2 separate regions of the Homo sapiens genome follow, and region 2 is linked to region 1. Evidence: promoter capture Hi-C in 16 types of primary human blood cells and fetal thymus (Javierre and others, 2016). All regions are on one chromosome and are shown on one strand. The core of a region is centred on a gene start or on the middle of the fragment in contact, and the rest is flanking DNA. Distances in the headings are between cores, read along the strand shown.

Region 1 (7,182 bases), core at 621-3,120:
ATTCCTTCTTTGAAAGTCTCATATTTCATCATTTTTAACACCCTAATCTAGGGGTGTGTCACCTAGAAGCTGGGTTAGCATTACAACTGTCTAACTGGTCTCTCTCACTCCAGCCTATCGCAATGTTACTGAAAATGCAAATTAATGACTTGAAAAATGTGCTTTCAGTCATTCATTCAATACGTACTTACTTATTTGTCTACTTTGTATTTAGAGGCTTTCTAGATTTGAGGGATATAATAATAAACAAAACAGACAAAAATCCCTGCCTTCATAGAGCTTACATTTGCAATAACTAAATATATAAAATACATTTAATAATAATAAATACTATGAAGAAAAATGAAACAGAAAAAAGGGTATAGAGAGTGTTAAGGATATCACAATTTTAAATAGGAAAACCTCTTTAAAGAGGTTGCATTTGAGCAAAGATTTCAATCAAGTGATGGAGTAAGTCATATAAAGATCAGACAGTACAACAGTACAGGGTCACTGCTGTGGACATGAGCTTGACTTGTTTGAGAAATAGAAGATTAATATATTTGTGAATTAGTGGCTGAGTGACAGGAGGTGAGGTCAGAAAGATGGCGGAGGCCAGATCATTTAGGGCTTTGAGGACATGGTAAGAAATCTGCATTTTATTGTATATGTGAAAGGAAACCATTGAACAATCTGAAGTTGAGCATAATCTGGCTTTTGTTTTAAAAAATCACCTAAACTCCTCTGTAGATAATTGACTATAGAGGATTGAGGTCACATGCTTTATGGCTTTTGGTGGCTTTTAATCAAATAAAAGTTATCTGCCTATTTTCAAAGGCTTTTATTATTAGCCAATTCCATCTACCACTAGTCCTCAGCATATGCCCTCTATTTGTCAAGCTGATTTCATCATGGGCTTCCTCACATCATATGAATTTATACGTCTCTACCTTTGCCTATCTTTCCCCTTTAAGACGGTGACTTCCATCTGCTCTTATCCACCATTCAAGAACCATCTCAAGTTTTAATTACATAAAATGCTTCCCTGACTTTTCACCTCACTGATGTCTCCAATAATTAAATAATGTAGCTCTTGTCTGTAGTTAATGACTGAGCACATGATCATGTACTTTATTTTATTGTTGTGAATATTTACTGTGTGCTAATCTTGTCTTCCAAACGATGTTGCAAGTTCTATGATAGCAGAGAATCAATGAATTCTATATCTCTCATGGCATCCAGCAAATCTGGGAAGTATATCAAGTGACTGTTAAATGATGTAACATGTGGCTTGACTTCTTTTCTGGAATGGTATAATGGTGATCACCCAAGAAGCTTCTGCCAGAATAGGAATTGAGGTTGGATGAATAAAAACCATAGTTTCTTTCCTCAGTCATCAGAGCCAACCAGTCACGTATAATAGTACACTTGCTTTTACTGTAAAATTCTAAAGGCTCGATGGACACCTTATTGATTTTAGTAAAACTGAATATTTACCTGTCAATCGAACACTGACCACAAAGGACTGTATTTCCTTATGCTATCATTTGATTTTGGCAGCATGTAACAATTTTGTTAAAACCCAATGTCAAGTTGGAAGGCCAGGCAGCACCTGCTCAAATGGCTGGCATGTAACTACTATAGTCACAGGGATGCTCGGTGTTCACAGCTATTCAGGAAGGTATAGAGAGCCCTGGCCGTAGATGTAGCTGATTTGTGTGAGGAAGAGGCAGTCCAGTTGCAGGCAGCCATCTCTCTTCCCCCCTCCCAACTCTTGGGTTCTGGGCTGAGGCCAGGGACTGTCCTGAGCTGATCGCAGGCTCCCATTGGCCGCTGTCTTTTGTGACGTCACGATCATGATGAGAATTGATGATCGGACACGCTGATTTCATTGTCTGAAGCGGCACTGGAGACCCAGGAAAAATCTCGCTGAATCCGCCTGCCCCAGCAGCGGCCTGATCTGGGTTCCGCTGATTCCTTTCGTAACCGCACCACACCCGAGGTAAGCACTCAACACTAAGTGGGTGAGAAGGGCGAAGGAGGGAGGGCAAAGCACCGGGATAATGCTTTTCCTAGTTTGGGGCGAGGTTGGGGGTGGGGGGGTCCATAGGTTCCGTGGCCTAAACAGGCAGACAAAAAACTGGTGCGGATCCTAGGGAGCCAAGTGCCTCTATCCTCCTAGCGAAGGCTGGCGGCTGAGTGAGATTAGAAACGAGCTGCGGATAGGGATACAATGGGGATTGCCAGAGAGCGAAGGACCTTGCTCGGAGAGAGAGCGATGTTTGGGACGCGCTTCTGGACGGGTAGTAGGAGGAAGTGGCGCCTCTGCCTCCGAAGAAAGGAGGGGATTGAATTCTACCACTTCTAGATTTCACTGGACAGTAGATTTCTCACAGCCCTACTCAAAGGCACTGAGAGCGTAGCGCCTGCGCATTAGCACCTTGGTGGGGGCGGGGTGGGTCACTGTGAGGAGAATAGGCGTGGAGTTTGCACAGGCGCTGTTTCGGTTTCACTGGAAGAGGTGGGGCTGAGCCATTTCTGTGCTGAATTTGGAAAGTAGAGACCCAGGGAACATCCCAGGCCTTGTGATGTTTCAAGCACCAGTTGATGGGGAGAGATCTGCCATTTAGTTTAAACTGGCCTACTGAGTAAATCCAGCTTCAAAATGAGCCTTATAAATTTGAGAAGGCACATTCTAAATTTCCAGATATTAGATGTTGAATAACGGAATGAACTCTAGAAGAATTTGTGAAATAGAAGTTTATCAGATAAGAAACTGTTTGGAAAAATAAACACTAATTATTCAAATGAATCTAACTTTTAATCTTAAAGGAGCTCTGATTTGAGGTGACAATGATTTTGAACCTTAAATTCTTTGGAAAGACTCAGAATGAAGTCCATTGTGGAGGCTCAGAGTAAGAAATTTTCCTTTCTTGCCTTTTTCTCTTCTTGGGACAATCTCTTATAAATATTTAGTCTCCATATCAAGTTTGGTGCTGAGTCCATCTTCTTCCTCTGTGTCTCTGCTAGAATCACTGAAGTCAAATATTATTTTGAGAAGCCCTTTCCCGCACCCCTTCATTGGGAAGGCTGTTATATTACTTATATTAAGGCTTTTATTACTCAGCAGTTGTGGGGAACAATGAAGAACAACCTGCCTGTCTATTATTGATGAATAGATTGTACAGTATTGTTATTAATTGCCCTCCACAGTCTGATCATAGACTCCTGACAATTTTACAGAGGAATCTGGATTTTTCTCTATTTCTCATAGTTAAGGGATTATCAAGTACTGGTAAATTTTCCTTTGAAAGCCTTCTCACACGTTCCTCCTTTACAATCTAAATTCTCATCAGCACCCATGTAGTCACTGTAGGAGCTTCCTAGGCAGTCTTCACCTGTGCCCCAAATCCTTAGTGGTCTGTGAACACTTCTTTCAACAAATCACTTTCTTTAACCAACATATTCTTGGCCCCTTATTTTCTATTGTTTCAAGCCTAATTCCACCCGAATTTTAAAGAACTTCATAATCTGGCCTCATTGTAATGCAGGAGCCTTATTTTCCTTTATTCTTCAGGGCACAACTCTCTTTAATGTTCAGTTAGTGAGAACAATCTACCTTTATATCTTTGCTCCTTATACCATTACTGTCCCCTCCACGTAGGATGTCCTCCTTCTACATAATTCACATCTTACCCACTTTGGAAACTCAACTCAAATTCCACCCCTCCACAAGTGCCTTCCAAATTAATCTAATGCAAGTGTTACTGACCTCACTTTTCCTAGAATTCCCACGTCAATTATTGTCTTTGTTAGTTGCTTGTAGGCTGCTTTGTATTGTCTCCTTTGTTATTGTTGTTGTTGTTGTTGTTGTGTGTGTGTGTGTGTGTGTGTGTGTTAGACTGGAATCCTCAAATGGATTTTAAACCCTTCCTTAAGGGTTGGGACCATGACATCCATTTCTTTATTATCTGCCCATAGCACCTAACTGAATAATCAAAATAGCTGTAGCTATATATGTTCTTTTTTTTTCCCCTAGAAAACAATTTCCTGGGAAATGAAGCAGTATTTTTATAGAGAGAACTGTATACATGTGAAAGCTTATTCATCGTTGGTCAGGCAAGAGACCCTCCAATGACTAAATAAACCTGAATTTAAGTCAGAGGAAAGAAATTACACAGATCTCTATTTACTGGGTGGCCTTCAAATATATCATGTCCTCATAAACAAGATCAAGGGAGGGAACACTATCCCAGAAGAGGTTCTGTCTGTAATCTTCTCAGTTTGAAAAATACTAAATAAAGAGGTATTCCACTGTTCTATACTTCTCTTTGGTGACATTGTATCATGTATCTTTAAAAATACACAAATTACTCACTTTTTATTACATTTTATCTACAATTGCTATCTTATATTGATTATTCCTGATAGTTTTCATGTGTACATCTCTTGAATCAGAGATGACCTTTGTGATGGTTGTTACAATTGCTATTATATATTGGTTGTCACTTTCCTATCCTTCAGGCTTCAAATTGCATTCTTCTGCAGAGCTCGTTTTACTTGAATGACAGTGTGATTATGGTTTCATACAGAGGTTTTTCACATATTTCACTTTGGCTCCTGCCTCACTTTGAGGTACCATCCCAATATCACATAAAAGTTTTTGACTTAGAAACATAGATTAAAAGCAGTCTGAAGGGTGTTTTAACCTGTAAATTAGAACATCATTATTGTAGATAATTGTAAGTGAACCATGAATGTTATTCATTGTAAGGGAAAATCCTTTGACCTTTTCTCTGATTACCTATATTATATGAAACTCCTCAAAGCTGTTTTAGCTTATAGCCAGCTTTCATAGTAATTGAGACTTTCCTAGACATTTACACATAGACCAATAGAGAAAACTGATCAAACTTAAGCAACTCTGGATAGAATGTGGTGCTTAGAAATATGCTGTTAAGTTTAGAGAGCCCAAAATAAAATATGAAAAAAACTGAGTGTGACATGCGTTTTTTAAGGCTTGTTTTACAATTTCTATCTGGGAGGATGACATTGGGTTTTCTCATTTAAGTTGTAGAGTTTAAGTTGGGAGAGATTTTATAGTGATAAGCCAATCCCCTTATTTTACAAGTAAAGAATCTGAAGCCCAAAGAAGTGAGGTACTTTACTAGCATTAATAAACACTAATATTTATTAAGCACTTAGTGCCAGGCATTGTGCTAAAAACTTTATATATCTTATTACATTTAAACATCACAAAATCTATATGAAAGAGTGTATAGTATTATTTCCCATTTTACAAATGAGAAAACATATTTCAAAGCAGTTGATTTTCCCAGGACCACACAGCTACTATACGTCACAGTCAAGACCCAATCACGGGTTTGACTTCTAATCACCAAGTTATGCTTGACTAAGGTCAATATAATGAACTTTTGGCAGAGCTTTAGCTAGGATCTAAATCTCTGGAATCTGAGATGTGTGTGTGTGTGTGTGTGTGTGTGTGTGTGTGTGTGTGTGTGCATACATTCCATAAACACCATATTACTTCTACAAAGTTAGAGATTTGTAAGATTACCCAAATAAATGGTGTATACCTACATTTGTTTTAGATATTTTATTAAAACACACTCTCTCAGTCTTGATTGAAAAAATATAGCATGAAAATTTGCATAAAATACATTTTAAAAACATTTATTTCCTTCTGCTTTTAAAATTGTATCATACTTCCAGAGGGAATTATATTTTTATAGTGTAATCTCCAACAGAATAAATAAAATTTGAATTGTTGATTTTTATTTTATTGTGGAGTCAGTGAGCTAAAACTGAAATTGGTGGTTTCTTAATATACTTGTATTGAGTACACTATATCTAGGTACACTAGTTTGGGAGCAAATATCGATAATTCTAGAGATATATTATGCATAAGAAGGGAGCTTGAGACACTGGCATATTCAGAAGCTATCACTGATATCCTAATACCTTTCCATTCTGCATAAAATTTTAAGGAAATAAGTTGAAACCTGTCTGTCCAAATGAGGTCATTCTTGTGCCAACTAGTGGCAAAATTGCCTGGATTAAACCAGAGATCTAGGTATAAGGCAACTGGATACATGAAATTATACTGTTAGTCAATTAAATGCTTCACCTTACATCTTCCATCTGTAAAGAAATCTAGAACAATATCTGTCTTACCTTTTGTTTCACAAAAGGTGTCCTATTATTTAACAACTAGACATATGTGCATTTGGGTTGATCCTTAGAATCTTTGAGGCTATTATTGTCAGGGTGGCAAAATTTAGCAAACTATCTCCTTAGCTTCTTTTCCCTTGGAGTTAGGGACAGTTTCTTTCAAGCTTCTAAAAACAGTCATGCAAACATGTGGCTTATATACTCCCCTAAGCACTTTTGTTATTAGGCAAATATTAGTGTATGGTGCTCATGCAAGGTCATATACTACTAAGTGGCAAAGCCAGGATTTGAGGGCAGGTGTTATTCTAGACACTGTATGCTCAACTGTTAAGCTACCAGGTATAAGTTAAGGAGCTACAGTGAGGCCTATCTTCATTGTTTTTCAAAAAATTTATGTGTATACACACACACACACACACACGTATATGTAAATTCATACACACACACACACACACACACAGTCATATAACATGTATATTTTCCCCTAGTTTCTTTTCTCCTTCTGAACCTCTAATACCTGTAATATTTTCCTTTTTTTTTCCTTAGTGGAGATGACATTTTTTACATAAATAAAGGCTGAAGTTAAGGGGAAAGGGCTCATTGTGCTGACCTCCAATGGCTTCACTGGCAGAAGGCACATAAACCCATATTCTTTCTTACTGTCAAACCAACCAATGTTGAAAGCACTTCATGAGTGGATTTTATTAAAACATAGATTATATTATTATATAACTTTTCTAATACACTAATTTAATGATTCAATATTTTCTTATTTGGCTAGCTTAATGTACCTATTGTATGTTTTATGGATGGAATAGCTGTGCCATTTAAGAAAGTAATTATCTGAGATGCATTTTCAAAATAGCTTTGCCCTTTCATAGACCGAAAATTTGTTGTGTTGAAATCCCCTTGTACTAATTTGTTTCCACACTGCTATAAAGAACTTCTCGAGACTAGGTAATTTATAAAGAAAAGATATTTAACTGACTCACAGTTCCACATGGCTGGGGA
Region 2 (6,282 bases), core at 1,857-4,356, 69 kb after region 1:
TGTCTACATCAAAAACTAGAAAAAAAATCAAATAATCAAGTTAAAATGCATTTTTCTTTTTTTTTATTATACTTTAAGTTTTAGGGTACATGTGCCATGCTGGTGCGCTGCACCCATTAACGCGTCATCTAGCATTAGGTATATCTCCCAATGCTATCCCTCCCCCCTCCCCCCACCCCACCACAGTCCCCAGAGTGTGACATTCCCCTTCCTGTGTCCATGTGATCTCATTGTTCAATTCCCACCTATGAGTGAGAATATGCGGTGTTTGGTTTTTTGTTCTTGCGATAGTTTACTGAGAATGATGGTTTCCAATTTCATCCATGTCCCTACAAAGGACATGAACTCATCATTTTTTATGGCTGCATAGTATTCCATGGTGTATATGTGCCACATTTTCTTAATCCAGTCTATCATTGTTGGACATTTGGGTTGGTTCCAAGTCTTTGCTATTGTGAATAGTGCCACAATAAACATACATGTGCATGTGTCTTTATAGCAGCATGATTTATAGTCATTTGGGTATATACCCAGTAATGGGATGGCTGGGTCAAATGGTATTTCTAGTTCTAGATCCCTGAGGAATCGCCACACTGACTTCCACAATGGTTGAACTAGTTTACAGTCCCACCAACAGTGTAAAAGTGTTCCTATTTCTCCACATCCTCTCCAGCACCTGTTGTTTCCTGACTTTTTAATGATCCCTTCCTTACACCTTATACAAAAATCAATTCAAGATGGATTAAAGATTTAAACGTTAGACCTAAAACCATAAAAACCCTAGAAGAAAACCTAGGCATTACCATTCAGGACATAGGCGTGGGCAAGGACTTCATGTCCAAAACACCAAAAGCAATGGCAACAAAAGCCAAAATTGACAAATGGGATCTAATTAAACTAAAGAGCTTCTGCATAGCAAAAGAAACTACCATCAGAGTGAACAGGCAACCTACAACGTGGGAGAAAATTTTCGCAACCTACTCATCTGACAAAGGGCTAATATCCAGAATCTACAATGAACTCCAACAAATTTACAAGAAAAAAACAAACAACCCCATCAAAAAGTGGGCAAAGGACATGAACAGACATTTCTCAAAAGAAGACATTTATGCAGCCAAAAAACACATGAAAAAATGGTCATGATCACTGGCCATCAGAGAAATGCAAATCAAAACCACTATGAGATATCATCTCACACCAGTTAGAATGGCAAGCATTTTTCTTAAGTAAGTAGAAAATCAAGAACAAGCCAGATCCAAAATTAGTAGAAGGAAAGAAATAATAAAGATCAGAGAACTAAATGAAATGGAAACTAAAAAATATATAAAATATCAATGAAACAAAAAGTTTTCTGAAAAGATAAGCAAAATTGACAAATCCTTAACTAGACTAAGAAAGAAATAGAGAAGACCCAAGGAAATAAAATCAGAAATGCAAAAGGAGATGTCATACTGGATACCAAACAAATAAAAAGGATCATTAAAACTACTATGAACAGCAACATGCCTAAAAATTAGAAAACCTGAAAGAAATGAATAAATTTCTGGATACATATGACTTACTAACATTGAACCAAGAAGGTAAAGAAAATCTGAAGGGACAAATAAAAATAATGAGATTCAGTTAATAATAAAAAGTTTTCCAAAAAATAAAAGTCCAGGATTGAATGGCTTCATCACTGAATTCTACCACACCTTTAAAGAAGAATTATTACCAGTTATTCTCAAACTATACCAAAACATCGAAGTGGAGATAACTCTTCCTATCATATTCTATGTGGCCAGCATAACCCTGATACCAAAAGCATAAAATGATACAACCGAAAAAGAAAACAACAGGCCAATATCACTGAAGAACATAGATACAAAAATCCTCAATAAAAAACTAGCAAAATTAATCCAATAATATATCAAAAAATATGCCATGATCAAATGAGATTTATCCCAGGAAAGCAAGAATGGTTTAACATACACAATCAGTAAATATGTTACATCACATGAATAGAATGAAGAAAAAAACATTATCTCAATAGATGCAGAAAAAGCATTTGATAAAATTCAGCATCCATTATTTATTTGAATTCTTGATAAATTAAATATAGAAGAAAATACTTCAACACAACAAAGGTCATATATGAAAAATTCACAGCCTAAATAATACTGAATGGAAAAAGGGTGAAAGCCTTTCTTCTAAGAATTGGAAAAAAACAAAGATTCCCACTTTTATCAATTCTATTCAGCATAGTACTAAAAGTCTTGGCCACGGTGATTAGGTAAGATTAAAAAAAAAGGCATCCAAATTGGAAAGGACAAATTAAAATTATCCTTTTTTAACAGACAATGTAATCTCATACATAGAAAAACTTAAAGACTCAAACACAAAACTCTTAAAACTGGTAAGCAAATTCAGTAAAGTTGCAGGATACAACATCAACATACATATTCAGTAGCATTTTTATGCGTAAACAACAAACAGGATGAGAATTAAATCAAGAAGACAATGCTATTTACAAAAACTGAAAGAAATAAAATGCCTTGAAATAAATTTAACCAAGGAGTTGAAAGAACTGCAATTAAAAAAAACAAAACATTGATGAAAGGAATTGAAGGATACACAAATAAATAGAAACACATTCCAAGCTCATGGACTGGAAGAATTAATATCATTAAAATGACTATACGGCCCACAGGAATCTACAGATTCAATAAAATATTTATCAAAGTACCAATGAAATGTTTTATGGAAATAGAAAAAATAATCCTAAAATTTATATGGAACCAAGGAAGAGCCAGAATAGCCAAAGCAATACTGAGTAAAAAGAACAATGCAGGAGGCATCACACTACCAAACGTCAAAATATGCTACAAAGCTGTAGTCACCACAAAAGTATGGTTTTGATATAAAAACGAACACATAGAACCATAAAACAGAGGAGAGAACATATAAATTAATTCACGTACTTACAGCCAGATGATTTTTGACAAAGGTGCCAAGAGCACTCGCTGGGAGAAGAAAGCCTTCTATAAATGGTGATGGAAAAACTGGATATTCACCAGCAGAAGAATGAAATTAGACCTCCTCTCACACAAAAAATAAAAATCAACTACAAATGGATCAAATACCTAAATGAGAGACCTCAAGCTACAAAGCTACTAGAAAGAAACATAGGTAGTGTGCTTCAGGACATTTTCCCAACAAATAGAACAAACAGCAGGTCAGGAAAACATTTTATCAATAAGACCTCAAAGGCACAGGCAACAAGAGAAAAAATAAATCGGATTGTATCAAACTAAAACGTCTCTGCATAGCAAAGCAAACAACAGAGTTAAAGGTCAACCTAAAGAATGGGAAAAATATCTGTGAACTGCTCACCCAACAGCAGATTAAGATCCAGAATATTTTTAAAAACTGCAACATCTCAACAGAAAAAAAATCAAATTTTTAAAGAAATAAGTAACCTGAAAAGATATTTCTCAAAGAAGACAAAAAAATGGCCAACAGGTATGCTGACATTATACTGATTGGGCAAAAGCTGGAAGCATTCCCCTTGAAACCCAGAGCAACACAAGAATGCCCCCTCCCACCACTCCTATTCAACATAGTGCTGGAAGTCCTGGCCAGAGCAATCAGGAAAGAGAAAGAAATAAAAACCATCCAAGTAGGAAGAGAGAAAGTCAAACTATCTCTGTTTGCAGATGATATGGTTCTATACCTAAAGAACCCCATAGTCTCTGCCCAAAAGCTCCTTTATCTGATAAATAATGTAAGCAGAATACAAGATACAAAAGCAGTGTACAAAAATCAATAACATTTCTATACAAAAACAACATCCAAGCTGAGAGCCAAATCAGGAACACAATCCCATTCACATTAACCACAAAAAAAACCTAAGAATACAGCTAACAAGAGGGGTGAAATATCTCTACAATGAGAATTACAAAACACAGCTGTAGGAAATCAAAGATGACACAAATAAATGGAAAAACATTCTATGTTCATGGATAGGAAGAATCCATATTGTCAAAATGGCCACCTGCCCAAAGCAATCCACAGATTCAATGCTATTCTGATCAAACCTATGACATTCTTCACAGAATTAGAAAAATCTGTTTAAACATTTGTATGGAACCAAAAATGATCCCAAATAGCCAAAGCAATCCTGAGCAAAAATAACTAAGCCAGAGGCATCACATTACTTGACTTGAAACTATACTAGAAGACTACAATAAGCAAACTGTCATGGTATTGGTACAAAAACAGACACATAGACCAATGGAACAGAATAGAGAGCCCGGAAATAATGTTGCATACCTACAACCATCTGATCTTTGACAAAGTTGGCAAAAACAAGCCATGAGAAAAAGATTCCATATTCAATAGATGATGCTAGAATAACTGACTAGTCACATGTAGAAGATTGAAACTGGAATCCTTTCTTATACAATATAAAAAAAATCGACTCAAGATGGATTAAACACTTACATATAAAACCTATAACTATAAAAACCCTGAAAGATAGCATAGGAAATATTCTGTACATAGGACTGAGCAAAGACTTCATGATGAAAATGCCAAAATCAAGAGTAATAAAACCAAAAATTAACAAATGGGACCAAATTAAACTGAAGAGCTTCTGCACAGCAAAAGGAACTTTCAACAGAGTAAACAGACAACCTACAGAATGGGAGAAAATATTTGTAAACTATGTATCCAACAGAGATCTAAATGTCAAGAAACTATAAGGAACTTAAACAAGTTTATAGGCAAAAAACAACCCCATTAAAAAGTGGGCAAAGAACATGAACAGTCACTTTCAAAAGAATATATACAAATAGCTAAAATGCATATGAAAATGCTCATAATCATTAGAGAAATGCAAATCAAAATCACAACAAGATATCTCACACTAGTCAGAATAGCTATTATTTAAAAATCAAAACATAAGAGATGCTGGAGAGGTTGTGTAGAAAAGGGAACACTTATACACTGCTAGTAGGAATGTCTATTAGTGCAGCCATTGTGGAAAGCACTTTGGCGATTTCTAAACGAACTTAAAACAGAATTACCATTTGACTCAGCAATCTCATTATTTAGTATATACCCAAAGGAATGTACATCATTCTACTATAAAGACACATGCATGTGTATGTTCATCACAGCACTATTCACAATAGCAAAGACATGAAATCAACCATAAGTGCCCATCAATGGTTGACTAAATTTAAAAATGTGGTACATATACACCATCAAATGCTACGTGGCCATAAAAAAAAAGGCAATATGGATGGAGCTGGAGGCCATTACCCTAAGCGAACTAACACAGGAACAGAAAACAAAATACCACATGGCCTCACTTACAAGTGAAAACTAAACATCAAGTACATATGGACAAAAAGAAGGGATAACAGACAATAGTACCTACTTGAAGGTGGAAGGTGGGAGGAAGGTGAGGATAAAAAATCTACCTATCATATACTATGCTTATCGCTGAGTGACAAAATAATCTGTACTCTAAACCCCTGTGATATGCAACTTACCTAAATAGCAAATGTGCACACGTATTCTTAACCTAAAATAAAAGTGTAAACTTGTTAAATTTAAAAAAAAGAGAGAAAAAGAGAAGAAAGAAAGAGGGAGAAAGAAAGAAATCATCAACAAGTATATGAAAAAATGTTCAACATTACTAATCATGAGGAAAATACTAATCAAAACCACAATGTATTAACACCTTACTTTATTAGGATGACAATTATCAAAGAGACCAAAAAAAAAATCACAAATACTGGCGAGGATGCAGAGAAAAGATCTCTCTTATAAATTGTTGGTGGGAATTTAAACTAGTACAACCACTATGGAGAACAGCTGGAGGTTACTCAAAGAAATATGAGTAAAACTACTATATGATCCAGCGATTCCACTACTGGGTAGTTATCCAAAGGAAAATAAATCATTTCATAGAAGAGACATCTGCACCAATATGTTTATTGCAGCACTAATTCACAATAGCCAAGATATGGAGTCAACTTAGGTGTACAACAACAGATGAATGGATAAAGAAAATGTGGTATATATACACAATTGAATACTATTCAACCATAAGAAAGAATTAAATTCTGTCATTCATATCAACATTGATGGAACTATAAGACATTATTTTAAATAAAATAAGTCAGGAACAGAAAGTTAAACACCACATGTTCTCACTCATATTTGAAAGCTAAAAAAAGTAATCTCATAGAAGCCAAAGTAGTACAGAAGATATTAGAGGCTGGAAATAGTAAA

Evidence for each region. Contacts are between HindIII fragments. The CHiCAGO score rates a contact against its expected background, and 5 or more counts as called.
Region 2: a contact is called between a fragment that was not itself captured here and the fragment with the promoter of HDX in region 1, in 1 of 17 cell types (monocytes). The highest score is 5.6, in monocytes.

Annotation. Positions count from the first base shown.
Region 1 is chrX:84,497,141-84,504,322 of GRCh38, reverse strand. HDX (highly divergent homeobox) reads left to right here and starts at 1,870. Exons shown (of 11, transcript NM_001177479.2): 1 at 1,870-1,981. RefSeq lists a silencer at 1,697-1,846. The HindIII fragment of the contact is 2,765 bases long and covers 1,317-4,081 here.
Region 2 is chrX:84,430,176-84,436,457 of GRCh38, reverse strand. The region is part of intron 5 of HDX (highly divergent homeobox); the gene reads left to right. Among named protein-coding and RNA genes, the nearest start is that of HDX, 69 kb to the left of the region's middle. The HindIII fragment of the contact is 9,455 bases long and covers 1-6,282 here.